Regions from separate parts of the Homo sapiens genome. Here all the other regions are linked to region 2. Evidence: promoter capture Hi-C in human tissues and cell types (Jung and others, 2019). All regions are on one chromosome and are shown on one strand. Each heading gives the region's core, a stretch centred on a gene start or on the middle of the fragment in contact. The rest is flanking DNA. Distances are from core to core; before and after follow the strand shown. Region 1 has its middle 84 kb from the start of LINC02458. Region 2 holds the start of KITLG (KIT ligand). Region 3 has its middle 62 kb from the start of TMTC3. Region 4 has its middle 49 kb from the start of LINC02458. Region 5 overlaps CEP290 (centrosomal protein 290).

Region 1 (2,700 bases), core at 47-2,546, 350 kb before region 2:
GCTTTCTTACTTGTTCTGAGTACATTCTCCTTTACAATTAACAAAAATTAAGAAAATTTGGCAAAATACTTCATTTTATTTCCCACACAGCGTTTCCTCATAAAGTCTCGTAAAACGTAAACTTGTCTATTTAGATAGAAATACCTCATCAGATTTACTATCTATACTAAACTTATTAGTAATTCTTCATATAGCTTCTTTCGTCCCCAAATTCCCAAACACCTTAGAAACATTGTCTGGGAGCTCTTTCAATGAGATAACGTGTTCAGAGATGGTAAATGGAGTGGGTACTGCCACTCCTTGTTGCCATCTCCTAGCAGACACACCCTGCCCTCCACCCATTCCCATGGATCCTGCTGTAGTCAGAGTGAGATTCAACAGTGGTCTTGAGGCTTTTTTCTATGAACCAACCAGAATTGAAGGGGAAACGACACCATTTACTCTTCCTGGGCGAGTAAAAACAGCATGTATTGGGGTATGAATCACACATTTATCCTTGTGTGACCTGGAGTACGTTAGTAAGCCTGTCAGAACTTTAGTTTCCTATAAATTTGGACATTATCTCCTTGAAAATTTTCTTATGAAGAGTAAGTGAAATCTTATTCTAACTGCAAGGCCCCTTTGTCATCTCTCTATATTTGCTTATATCCAGTTAAGGCTTTGGCTTAAAGTGCTTACTATGAAAGTAGCTTAAAGAGCTTAAAGTAGATTAAAGTAGCTTAAAGTAGCTCAAAGTAGCTTAAAGAGCTACTTTGCTCTTATTTATGCTTGGTCCTTCATTCATGCATTTGGATGTATGGCTGAGTGGAAGACATCGATTCCGTTTGATCTGGAAAACAATGATTCTCATTTTCTATCCATTATACCCATTGTCTCTTGGGCAATGTCACCAGGAACAGCTCTGCCAAAATTTATGATCCTCAATCCTGCTTATCTGTTGGCAATGTTTCATTGACAATCACCCATCTGGTTAAATACCACTCAGACTTCATTCTCATGTTACATTCACCTTGAGCTTTCTTAGCAGATTCTAAATTATTTTAACTTCTTTTTGCCTCCACTATGTACTGAAAGCCTTTGGCAAGTGCCTAAAATATGTATTTTGGGTTACATAAGAAATACTCTACTGGAGTTGATATGAACTCCAATGGAGGCAAATGAACAAATCCAGAATAGCGCCTAGAAGATTAGAAGATGTCAGGTTCTCATCTATCCATCTATCCATTCATTCATCCACCCCTTTCCAACTGAGTGCATAAATACTCAGTGGTAGACCCAGAAATAGATGTTGGAGATTTAACAGTCAATAAGACTGACAAATTCCCTTCCTTCTCTTGTGGAGTCTCTAGTGAGAGAAAACAGGCAAAAAATAATTGACACTAAACAAGTAAATAATGTGATTTTAGTTCTAAGTGCTATGGAAAAAAATAGAGAGCACATGAAAACAAGAAGACTATCTTCAAGCCAGAAAGTAAAAATGCTTAGATTTAGTGATCAAACTAGAGTTCTAGAAAACAGGAAGCTAGCAAGATGGGGAGAAGTAATCAGATCTCAGGTGATTGAAAATAACATAGTGACCAGCAGAATACACTGAAATCGGCCAGATGCAAAGGAATGATTACCCTCAATCTGTCTTTCAGCTTCTAGCTGGGAAGAAATTTCTTTCAGGTTCTGGACCAATAGGTGGGTAGGAGTGAGGAAAATGGCTACATCTAATTAAGGAAAGACTGCCGGAGAAGTAGGAAGGATTTTCTTTCCAGGATGTTCTGGATCTAGTACATATTTGGCAGGTTTTCATAATTTTCTTTATATTAGAAAGTGGATCAAAGGTCAGGTATGATTATTGCACAAACATAAAAAAAAATTCCCTCCTCTGGGGGTGTCACAAATGAAGCCCCTTACGAATTCTTCACACGGGTTACAGGCATTATCACAATGCTTAGGCATATGATAAAACTACAGCAACAAATTAGGTGCAATTAAACGTTTTCAACTCTCTCACACACCTGAAACCAAAGCTATGAAAAAAGAGGCATATCCCAGGTAATTAATTGCCAAGAAACATTTAATGATCTCTCCTCTGCTACATTTAACATGAGTCATGAGTGCTTTGTTCCAACTTAGTCATAAAGTTCCCTGGAGCCAAGGGCATGTTACTACGGCACACTAAAGGAAAAAAACCCTAAACACAGAGCTTAATTAATTTTCAACTTCTGCCACACAACTTCACACCTGAATTCCTTATCCTTTGGGCATACTTAATATAACCACAATGCACTGTAGTAACACCTACTTTATAGGCAGAACTTTCATCTACCCACAGTTTCCTCTTCTTTGTAAAACCATTTGGCTGACCATCACAAAATGGCAGTAACCAAGCTTCTCTCTTTGCAGCCTGACAGGTCAAGCACCCTACTAAATTCAAGAAAGAGACTGTTTTATACCATTATTTTGCTCTAATAACAGAGTGGGAACTCCTTTAATGTTAAGATTCTCTAGAGAAGGATGTTGTTTTAAAAGTATTGACCCACGAGAAGCAAAGGTACCTGGCAACTTTCAAAATGTGTGATATATTTGTGTCAGCTTTTTCTCCCAGGCCCGTTCTGTCTTTTGAGCATATTGAAAGAAAGCCTATCTTTTTTTTTTTAATCCAAATATGTAGCAGATGGGATGGTGGATAAATGTCAATTACTGTTGTCA
Region 2 (2,700 bases), core at 181-2,680:
GTTCGATATATTTGTACTAAGAGTACCTAATGTATAAAAATCTTTCTAAGCAACTATCAACTTGGAATCATGATTGATGTGCTGTCTATACATATTTTTTCTAACATGAGAAAGTGAGAACGCAGTCCCCCACTAAATTATGCAGTCGAGTTTCCCACATTTGGGGAAATCACAGAAGTCAGCACATCTGGAGTGAAATAAACAAGCTTCGCCCTGATTACAGGTTTGGCATATTCATGTTTAACAAACGCACCGGAACTAATTAAAGCAAATTTGGACTCCTACTCTATTATTAAAATAACTAATTCCTAAACTCATACATTATTCTTTCTTTTAAAGATCACTGATGTTAATGTTCAGCTAATATTTTCTTTTAAAAAATTAATGAAATGCTTTGGAATGTTCTCCAGTTATACAAACAAAAACAGACACATTCTGGAGAATCAATAAAATATTTGAAGTATTTTTTAAGACTGTACAGCTGGAGCTCCAGGTTTAAATTAGAGCTCTGCCATTTACTAGATATGGTTGGTCAAGAAAATTAACCTTGTATTTCATCGTCCATAAAATGGGAATAAAATAATAAGATCTACACTAATAGATTTGATGAAAGAATTTAATGAGATAATCTATGCGAAGTTCTTAGTCTGGCACCTGGCACATGAATAAGTGCATCACATAATGATGTTAGCTATTATTATTGTGGTTGCATTATCTTTCCGTTCAAAAAAGTACAACTTTCAAAGCCTTGCTGTGTTGGCGACCTGTAGTTTAATAATCTATCGCTTCTCTTTCAATCTTAATTTCTAAAGACACAGTAACAAACCATTCCAAATGAAGCGTCTCCCCTTGCAATACTTAACCTTGAGTCAACAATTCTTGTAATTATTAAATATTCATTCACTAAAGTAATTGTTTTTTTTAAAAAATAGAGGTGATAGGACAATGGCCTAACTACAGATCGCAATTAAACTTTATTTCTCTAAGGCAGGCAGGGTGAATTCTTTGCTCCGAACCTCCCGGACTCCTCTCCCTCTCCGACTTTGTATAACAGAGGGAGCTCCGAGCCCTCTCTGGCGCGCGAGGTATTTCGTCTGTCCCCGGGGGTGCCAGGTGAGCCCCAGCGGATCCGGGAGGGTAAGCTGGGACTCCTCGCGAGCAGTAGCTGCAGGGTACCAAGCTTCGCCCTCTGCGTCCCCGCGCCTTCGCGGTCTCCCGCCAGTGCAGGTCCGGGGCCCCCAGGCGAGCGGACAAGGTTGGCCTAATCTGCCAAACTTCTGGGGCATTTACCGTGCTCTGGCCGCCCTCCCGATTCTTCCCTCCGCGCCCTTGCCTGCTTCTCGCCTACCCCGGGCTCCGGAAGGGAAGGAGGCGTGTCCGGAGCAGGCGGGCGGGAACTGTATAAAAGCGCCGGCGGCTCAGCAGCCGGGCTTCGCTCGCCGCCTCGCGCCGAGACTAGAAGCGCTGCGGGAAGCAGGGACAGTGGAGAGGGCGCTGCGCTCGGGCTACCCAATGCGTGGACTATCTGCCGCCGCTGTTCGTGCAATATGCTGGAGCTCCAGAACAGCTAAACGGAGTCGCCACACCACTGTTTGTGCTGGATCGCAGCGCTGCCTTTCCTTATGAAGAAGACACAAGTGAGTAGGGCGCGCCCGGGAGCTCCCAGGCTCTCCAGGAAAAATCGCGCCCGGTGCCCCGGGGAAGCCGGCGCTCCCTGGGACTTGCAGCTGGGGCGTGCAGGGCTGTGCCTGCCGGGTGAGACAAGAGGATGCGGGGGAGGCCGGCGTGGTGTGTGATCCCGAGCCGAGCCGGGTGAGCCAGGGAGAAAAGGAGTGGGAGTGCTGAGAGGGAGCCAGTGTCAAGTTTGGAGCCTCAGCAGTTAAGTTTTGAGCTGTCAGTCGGAAACCGTAATTCCCGTCTGGTGGAAAGATTGGCTTTTGGGCCATGGAATGTTAAGTTATCACGGGAAGGCATGTCTTTGCATAGGAGACGGTTTTCCCGTGGATTCCAGGAGATTATGAAACAGCACCCCACGCGCCACCCTCACTAGCTCTCTCACTCAGATTTATTTGTGTAGCCCCGAGGTGGGCGCCGGGCACCAGGAGCGGCGCGAACGCGGGTGCAGCCGCGGGAGCGAAGCCAACGCGGAACTCCTAAGCGGCAGCTCTCGGCGGGGCGGGAACCTGCCCGCCTGCCCGGGAAACTTGGCTCTCGGCGGTGTCTGCCTAGTTTGCAGCTCTGTGTGGGCTCTAAAGAGCTCTAGTACCTCCACAATGCACGCACCTTTTTCCATTTCAAAAGGGATAAAGGCTTTTTATAAAATAGGCACCTCTGAATGATAGTGATTGAGATAATTCCCAGTGCTGCTAAATTCTGCATTATACATAAAGCACTGTGGGTAAAGCGCTGCCTGGGGGGACAATTAGATTTTTTTTTCCCTTGAAGAAAATACCTGGTTCTTCGTTTAGAAAGGGCCGCCACGGTGCCCCTATCCACAGTTCTCTTCACCATTGTTGATTGTTACCTCCTCTCACTTTCCCCCTTAGAAATTGTTATGTGTTATCTGCCGCGGTTGGCTAAGGGTTGCCCTTTCACCCCCCAGAGGTTCTGTTGGAGATTGCAGTTCCTGAAATGTGTGGAAGGGGTGGAAGTGGTGGGGAAAAAGGAAACCGGGGTGTTTGTACACATCGTTGGTGTAGA
Region 3 (2,733 bases), core at 14-2,513, 380 kb after region 2:
TGTCTCACATGCAGGTCACACTGATTCAGGAGATGGGTTCTCATGGTCCTGGGCAGCTCTGCCTCTGTGGCTTTTTGGGGTACAGCCTCCTTCCTGGCTGCTTTCATGGGCTGGTGTTGAGTGTCCACAGCTTTTTCAGGTGCACAATGCAAGCTGTTGGTAGATCTACCATTCTGGGTTCTGGAGGATGGTGGCCCTCTTCTCACAGCTCCACTAGGCAGTGCCCCAGTAGGGACTCTGTGTGGAGGCTCCAACCCCACATTTCCCTTCTGTCCTGCCCTAGCAGAGGTTCTCCATGAGGGCCCTGCCCCAGCAGCAAACCTGCCTGGGCATCCAGGCGTTTCCATACGTCTTCTGAAATCTACTCGGAGGTTCCCAAACCTCAATTCTTGACTTCTGTGTACCTGCAGACTGAACAACATGTGAAAGTTGCAAAGGCTTGGGGCTTGTAGCCTCTGAAGCCATGGCCCGAGCTGTACCTTGGTCCCTTTTAGTCATGGCTGGAGTGGCTGGAACACAGGACACCAAGTCCCTAGGCTACACACAGCACAGACACTCTGGGCTTGGCCCACTAAACCATTTTTTTTTTCCCTAGACCTTCAGGTCCATGATGGGAAGGGCTGCCATGAAGACCTCTGACATGCCCTGGAGACATTTCCCACATTGTCTTGGGGATTAATTTGGCTTCTAGTTACTTATGTAAATTTCTGCAGCTGGGTTGAATTTCTCCTTAGAAAATGGGATTTTCTTTTCTACTACACTGTCAGGCTGCAAATTCTGCAAACATGTATGCTCTTTTTCACTTTAAAAACTAAATTCCTTTAACAGCACACAAATCACCTCTTGAATGCTTTGCTGCTTAGAAATTTCTTCTGCCACATACCCCAAATCATCTTTCTCAACGTCAAAGTTCCACAGATCTCTAGGACAGGGGAAAAATGCCTCCAGTCTCTTTGCTAAAACATAACAAGAGTCACCTTTGCTCCAGTTCCCAACAAGTTCCTCATCTCCATCTGAGACCACTTCAGCCTGGATTTCATTGCTCATATCATTATCAGCATTTTGGTCAAAGCCATTCAACAAATCTCTAGGGAGTTCCAAACTTTCCCACATTTTCCTGTCTTCTGAGCCCTCCAAACTGTTCCAACCTCTGCCTGTTACTCAGTTCCAAAGTTGTTTCCACATCTTTGGGTATCTTTTTAGCAGCACCCCACTCTACTGGTACCAATTTACTGTATTAGTCTGTTTTCACACTGCTGATAAAGACATACTCGAGACTGGGCAATTTACAAAAGAAAGAGGTTTAATGGACTTAGTTCCACGTGGCTGGGGAGGCCTCACAATCATGGCGGGAGATGAAAGGCACATCTCACATGGTGGCAGACAAGAGAAGAGAGCTTGTTTAGGGAAACTTCTCCTTATATAATCATTAGGTCTCATGAAATGTATTCACTGTGATGAGAACAGCACAGGACAGACCTGCCCCCATGATTCAATTACCTCCCAGACAAACCATATCAGTATGGAAAACCATGGGGTCCTGGCAGATGCCTGCTGCATGGGTGGAGCCCTCACAGAGAACTTCTACTAAGGTAGTGCAGAGGGGAAATGTGGGGTTGGAGGCCCCACCCAGAATTTTCACTTGGGACACTGCTTAGTGAAACTGTGGGAAGGGAAGAAGACCAGTATCTTCCAGGCCTGAACATGGTTGATCCACTGGAGACTTTCACCCTTCATTTGGAAAGCCACAGACACTTGACTCCAACCCATGAGAGCAGCCTCAGGGGCTAAATCCTGCAAAGCTCCATTGGGTAGAGGTGCCCAAGGTCTTGGGAGCCCACCCCTCATATCAGTGTGCCCTGGATATGGGACATGGAGTCAAAGGAGATTATGTTGGAGTTTTATGATTTAATGATGGGCCTGCTGGATTTCGCAGTTGTGAGGGGCCTGTAGCTCCTTTCTTTTGGGCATTTTCTCCCTTTTGGAATGGGAATGTTTACCCAATGTCTGTATCTCCATTGTATCTTGGAAGTAAATAATTTGTTTTGATTTTACAGGCTCATAGGTAGAAGGGACTTGACCTGGAAATTTTGAGTTAATGCTGGAATGAGTTAAGACTTTTGCGGACTATTGGGGAGGCATGATTATATTTAGCAATGTGAGAAGAACATGAAATTTGGGGGGCCAGGGATGGATTGACATAATTTTGATATTTGTCCCCCCAAATCTCATGTTCAACTGTAATCTCTAATGTGGGAGGTGACTGGACCATAAAGGTGAATTTCTTATTAATGGTTTAGCACCATCCACTTGGTGATCTCCTCACTAGTGAGTGAGTTATCATGAGATTTAGTTGTTTAAAAAGTGTGTGGTGCTTCCCCCACTCCTATTGCTCCTGCTCTTGCCATATGGTGTGCCTGCTCCTGCTTCACCTTCTACCATAAGTAAAAGCTCCCTGAGCCCTCCATAGAAGCCAAGCAGATGCCAGCACCATGCTTATACATTGTGAGCCAATTAAACCTCTCTTTTAAAATAAATTACTCAGTCTGTTTTTTTTTTCCACACCAATGCAAGAATGCCCTAATAGTCTTTTCTTTTTACTATAGTTATTTTAAAGTATTTGGTAACCTTAGTATTTATTCGGATAATTGGTATGTATGCTGCTATTTTTGTCTTATTAGTCATATTTTTCTGCATTTTTGGATATGTAACTCAAAATCAGATAAGTGTATA
Region 4 (2,700 bases), core at 143-2,642, 390 kb before region 2:
TTTTGAGCATGAAAAGCACCATCTCAGGTAGACTGTAAGGTATGAATAAGAATGCCCAAGGGTAGGCTGGGATGATTGATTCAAGACTCAAACAATTTTAATTTAAATCCTCCTTGACACAGGTTCACATAAATCAATGTCCCTGGGTCCTAACACTCTGTCTTACATTCCAGTACTTTCTGATATCTTTAGCTATTTATCTGACTTTGCTTAAAAATTCACAGCACAGAGATCAGAGGGTTACATTTCTCTTACCTATGTATACTACTCCTTTCCCAGTAATTCTGCATTTGTTAAAGGCTGATGTGCTTCTTAACACAAAGGGACTTGATTTATTCTGAGCCTTGAACTCTCCCTAAGGAAAAAAAGAATAATGAACAGCATTCTGAAATACTTTGATTAGTTGTGGATTAGATACTGGTTTGTGTAACTTGTTTATGAAACTATAAATCCTAGAGGGAAAAAAAAAGTGAGCTGAATATGTTAGGTGCTTAATAGACGTGGTTTGTCAATGGGAACATCCGGACATAAAGATGGAAATAATAGACTGAGGACTCCAAAAGGGGGTCAGTGGGAAGAGGGTGAGGATTGCAAAATTACCTATTGGTTACCATGTTCAATATTTGGGTAATGGGTACACTAGAATTCTAATCCCTACCAGTATGCAATATCATGTAACAAACATTCATATGTACCCCCTGAATCTTAAATGAAATAAAATTTTAAGAATGTAGTTTGTGATTTGATGAAATATATTCTCTATTCTCAGACTTCCTCCTCTAAACACACAAAGTTCAACCTAGGCAGTCACTGTTTTTATTTTGGCTCTGAATTAAGCCTTGACTACTTTAACTGGCATGTTCTGCAGAATAACAGGGCCACACCCTGAGGTCCTGCAGCCCCTTATAGTATAGGATTTCCTCTCTGCAAGGCCAAAAAGTCACTGCATTTGCTATTGTGATGGCTTATTATATTAAGAACTCTCCACCCTGTAAACAAGGCAATCTAAAATATATTGACGCAAATTATAAACAAAAGTAATCCTGTATAAATGTTTCAGACAGTGTCTTAAAGGGATCTATGTTTATTTGTGAAGCTGAACTTGATATTTATACACAGCCTTTACTTTTTTTTGTTGTTGTTTTCAGGTTTCTTTAGACAGTTACTGCATAAACCTTCCTGGCTCTCATAAACTGTTGTTCTGAACACCATATTTTCTTCCTTCCTATCTGTGTTATAAACAATATAAATTTTACCAACTCATCCATGTTTTAAACCTGAGCTGTCTAATATGCTAGCCACTAGCTACATCTGGCTACTGAATACTCAAAATGCAGCTAGTATGAATTGTGATGTGCTCTAAGTGTAAAATACACACTGTATTGGTCAGGGGCCTCTAGAGGGGCAGAACTAATAGGATAGATGTACATATCAAAGGGCGTTTATTAAGGAGAATTGACTCACATGATCACAAGGTGAAGTTCCACGATAGGCTGTCAGCAAGCTGAGGAGCAAGGAAGCCAGTAGTATCTCAGTCCAAGTCCCAAAACTTCAAAAATAAGGAAGCCAACAGTGCAGCCTTTAGTCTGTGGCAAACCACTGGTGTAAGTCCAAGAGTCAAAAAGCTGAAGAATTTGGAGTCAGATGTTTGAGGGCAAGAAGCATCCAGCACAGGACAAAGATGAAGGCCGAGACTCAGCAAGTCTGCTCTTCCACCTTCTCCTACCTGCTTTATTTTAGCCACGCTGGCAGCTGATTAGGTGGTGCCCAGCCAGATTGAGGGTGAGTCTGCCTCTAGCAGTCCACTGACTCAAATGTTAATCTCCTTTGGCAACACCCTCATAGACACAGCTAGGATCAACACTTTGCTTTCTTCAATCCATTCAAGTTGACATTCAATATTAACCATCACACACACTAAATTTCAGACTTAGTACAACAAAAGATTATTAAAAATGTCATTAATATTTTATATTGATTACATGTTTCAATGATATTTGAAATATATCAAATTAAATAAAACATTAAATTGATTTCAGTTGTTTCTTTTTCTTTTAAAAAATATTGCTACTTGAATATTTTAAGTTAAATATGTGGCTCACATTATATTTCCACTAGAAAAAATTTTATGAACAATACAGATCATTACCAATGATATGTCATGTCTGGAGTACAGAGTTAACAATCAAATAATTTAATGACTATTCTGTCAATAGTTTTTAGGAATAAAACACTTTTTTTGAGACAGACTCTCACTCTGTCGCCCAGGCTGGAGTTCAAGGTGTGATCTTGACCCACTGCAACCTCTGCCTCCTGGGTTTAAGCGATTCTCCTGCCGCAGCCTCTCAAGTAGCTGGAATTACGGGTCTCTGAACCAAACAGTGCTATACTTCTTCTTTCTGGCACACAGTCAGACTACACAGAGAGCGCTAGTAAGTCCCAGTGGACTCTTACTGTAACCTGAGATAGAGCTAGTAAGTCCATTGGGAGCATGTGACTGAGTTCTCACCAATGGAAATGTGGAGAGAAGTGATGTTTCTCTTCCGGTCCAAGGTTGCTGAAGGCAGAATAGGAGTTCTCCACATTTTCTCTCTCTTTTCTATGTGGTTGAAAATAAATTCAGAAACAGTTCAGAAATGGGAGTTGCCCAGATCCCTAAAATACCAGGAGGGGAAAATTACCAAACAGAGCCACCTAACC
Region 5 (2,700 bases), core at 53-2,552, 470 kb after region 2:
ATATATAAATATGTTTTAAATTACTTTTTAAATTCACAAGAATTTATGGTATACAACATGGTGTTCTATATATGTATATACTATGCTATACAACATGGTGTTCTATATATGTATATACTATGCTATACAACATGGTGTTCTATATATGTATATACTGTGGAATGGCTAAATCAAGCTACTTAACATATGTATTACCTCGCATACTTTTTTTTTTTTTTCCTTGAGACAGAGTCTTGCTCTGTCACCCAGGCTGGAGTGCAGTGGCGCTATCTTGGCTCACTGCAACCTCTGCCTCCTGGGTCCAAGTTATTTTCTTGCCTCAGCCTCCCAAGTAGCTGAGATTACAGGCATGTGCCACCACGCCTGGCTAATTTTTGTATTTTTGGTAAAGACGGAGTTTTGCCATATTGTCCACGCTAGTCTCAAAATTCCTAGCCTCAAGCAATCTGCCCACCTTGGCCTCCCAAAGTGCTGGGATTACAGCATACTTCTTCTTATTTTTTTTTTTTTTTGCACTAAGAACACTTAAAATTTACTCTCTTAGCAATTTTAAAGTATATAATATACTGTTATTAACTTTGGTCACTATTTTAATTAGACTTAAGATGTGTTTGTATTCAAATTATTTTGTAAGCATTTAACACCCAAATTTGAGAGTGGGGTCAGAATGTTGGAATTTGATTTCTAGAATTAGTATAGGGTATTATTTTCCTACTTTTTTTCTGTGTTCAATAAAATGTTTATAAGATTCAGCTTCAATTATATTATAACCCATTTAGTGGTGAATCAGGGAAGAATGAAAATAATTTGATAACTTTGTTGCCTTGCATTTATTTAAAAAATTTTTAATTCTAGGCTAAACCCTTTTTAAATGAAAGTTTAACTTCTTGTGTTTTCAGATACTGAATAGCTATGATACCTCTTGTGTTGAGAAAACTTTAAATTTGCATAATCTGAAGTTATCTTTTCTTATAAACATTTTATTAGGTTTACAGTATTGTCTTTTTGTTTTGTTTTGTTTTTAGTGAAAAGGAGACCTGGAAAACAGAATCTAAAACAATAAAAGAGGAAAAGAGAAAACTTGAGGATCAAGTCCAACAAGATGCTATAAAAGTAAAAGAATATAATGTAAGTAAAACATTTTTAACATTAGTATGCAATATTGTACAAAGTAGGATAGCTAGATTCAACAAGTAATATGGATGTGTCTTTGTGCAGAATTTGCTCAATGCTCTTCAGATGGATTCGGATGAAATGAAAAAAATACTTGCAGAAAATAGTAGGAAAATTACTGTTTTGCAAGTGAATGAAAAATCACTTATAAGGCAATATACAACCTTAGTAGAATTGGAGCGACAACTTAGAAAAGAAAATGAGAAGCAAAAGAATGAATTGTTGTCAATGGAGGCTGAAGTTTGTGAAAAAATTGGGTGTTTGCAAAGATTTAAGGTACATCTGATTCTTATTTTGCTTTTTCTGACTATGAAAAATTTCAAATATGCAGAAGATAGGATGGTATCAATAATGCTCATCACCTGAATTAATAGTTAACATTTATTAACATTTTGTCATAATTGCTTCTTCTGATTTTTGTGGGATGTTTGAATTGCAGACATTCCTCCCCTAAATATTTAATGTACCCTTTTGAAAAAGGCTTTTTTCTTTAACTAACCATAGTAACTTTATTATACCTAACAAAATGACAGTAATTTTCTAATATCGCCTAATACCCTGATTATAGTCACATTTTTTACATTTTTTGATCAAAGAATAAGCATTTGGATGTTACATCTCATAAATCTTTTTAATATAGAATCCCCTTGGTTTTCTTTTTCTCCAAAAAATGTTTGAAGATGTATCTAACTTTTGTGTGTGTGTCATTTTACTTGTTCCTGTGTCCCTTGTATTACTAAAAGTTAGGTCAGAACCCTAAGTTACATTCAGGTTTAAACATTTTTGGCAAGAATACTTCATAAGTAGTGTTCTATACTTTATATTGCATCACTTCAAGAGTATCTGGTTGTTCCATGTTTTGTAATTGATTACTCTGTTAAGGAAAAGACAAGCAGACCAAGTATGGTGGCTCATGCCTATAATTCCAACATTTTGGAAGGCCCAGGCAGGAAAATTTCCTGAGCCCAGACCAGCCTAGGCAATATAGTGAGACTCCGTCTCTACAAAAAATGTTTTTTTTTTTGTTTGTTTGTTTTTAATTAGCTTGGTGTAGTGGCACATGCTTGTAATCCCAGCTACCTGGGACATTGAGGTGGGAGGATCGCTTGAGCCCAGGAAGTTGGGGGCTGCAGTGAGCTGTGATCATGTGCCACTGATCTCCAGCCTATGTGCCTGTATAACAGAGCGAGTCTCTCTCTTAAAAGAAAAAAAGAAGAAGAAGAAGAAGAAAAGATAACCATATACCTCCATTATTAAGCAATTTAGCTAACTGGTGATATTTTGGTACCATACAAATAACAAATTATTTGTCAGTCCTAATGATTTTAGCATCTGCTGATGATTGTTGCCTAACCCAATTATTAAAAGTTGCAAACATCATAATTTTCTAGTTATATTATGCACTTACATTTATTAACAGACATGCTTTTGTAAAATAAATAGCGTTTCCTCATTAGCCCAGGCTATTTGTTTATCTTGAAGTTTAGCTCCTACTACAAAGGCAAGATAAATGCTTTTCTCTTTAAT

Evidence for each region. Contacts are between HindIII fragments. The study calls those that stand out against the background at their distance.
Region 1: a fragment that was not itself captured here is called in contact with the fragment with the promoter of KITLG in region 2 in 1 of the 25 tissues and cell types used here (H1 embryonic stem cells).
Region 3: a fragment that was not itself captured here is called in contact with the fragment with the promoter of KITLG in region 2 in 2 of the 25 tissues and cell types used here (H1 embryonic stem cells and IMR-90 fibroblasts).
Region 4: a fragment that was not itself captured here is called in contact with the fragment with the promoter of KITLG in region 2 in 1 of the 25 tissues and cell types used here (IMR-90 fibroblasts).
Region 5: a contact is called between a fragment that was not itself captured here and the fragment with the promoter of KITLG in region 2, in 1 of the 25 tissues and cell types used here (mesendoderm cells).

What each region holds. Positions count from the first base shown.
Region 1 is chr12:88,934,024-88,936,723 of GRCh38, reverse strand. No RefSeq gene overlaps it. Among named protein-coding and RNA genes, the nearest start is that of LINC02458, 84 kb to the left of the region's middle. The HindIII fragment of the contact is 3,251 bases long and covers 1-2,700 here.
Region 2 is chr12:88,579,201-88,581,900 of GRCh38, reverse strand. KITLG (KIT ligand) reads left to right here and starts at 1,430. Exons shown (of 10, transcript NM_000899.5): 1 at 1,430-1,637. The coding sequence starts at 1,623. LOC105369885 (a long non-coding RNA gene) reads right to left here and starts at 1,365. Exons shown (of 4, transcript NR_188177.1): 1 at 1,291-1,365. It also overlaps the pseudogene RNU1-117P. The HindIII fragment of the contact is 2,929 bases long and covers 1-2,116 here.
Region 3 is chr12:88,202,721-88,205,453 of GRCh38, reverse strand. No RefSeq gene overlaps it. Among named protein-coding and RNA genes, the nearest start is that of TMTC3, 62 kb to the right of the region's middle. The HindIII fragment of the contact is 6,396 bases long and covers 1-2,733 here.
Region 4 is chr12:88,969,130-88,971,829 of GRCh38, reverse strand. No RefSeq gene overlaps it. Among named protein-coding and RNA genes, the nearest start is that of LINC02458, 49 kb to the left of the region's middle. The HindIII fragment of the contact is 5,537 bases long and covers 1-2,700 here.
Region 5 is chr12:88,105,424-88,108,123 of GRCh38, reverse strand. CEP290 (centrosomal protein 290) reads left to right here. Exons shown (of 54, transcript NM_025114.4): 24 at 1,026-1,128; 25 at 1,219-1,449. Among named protein-coding and RNA genes, the nearest start is that of CEP290, 35 kb to the left of the region's middle. The HindIII fragment of the contact is 7,433 bases long and covers 1-2,700 here.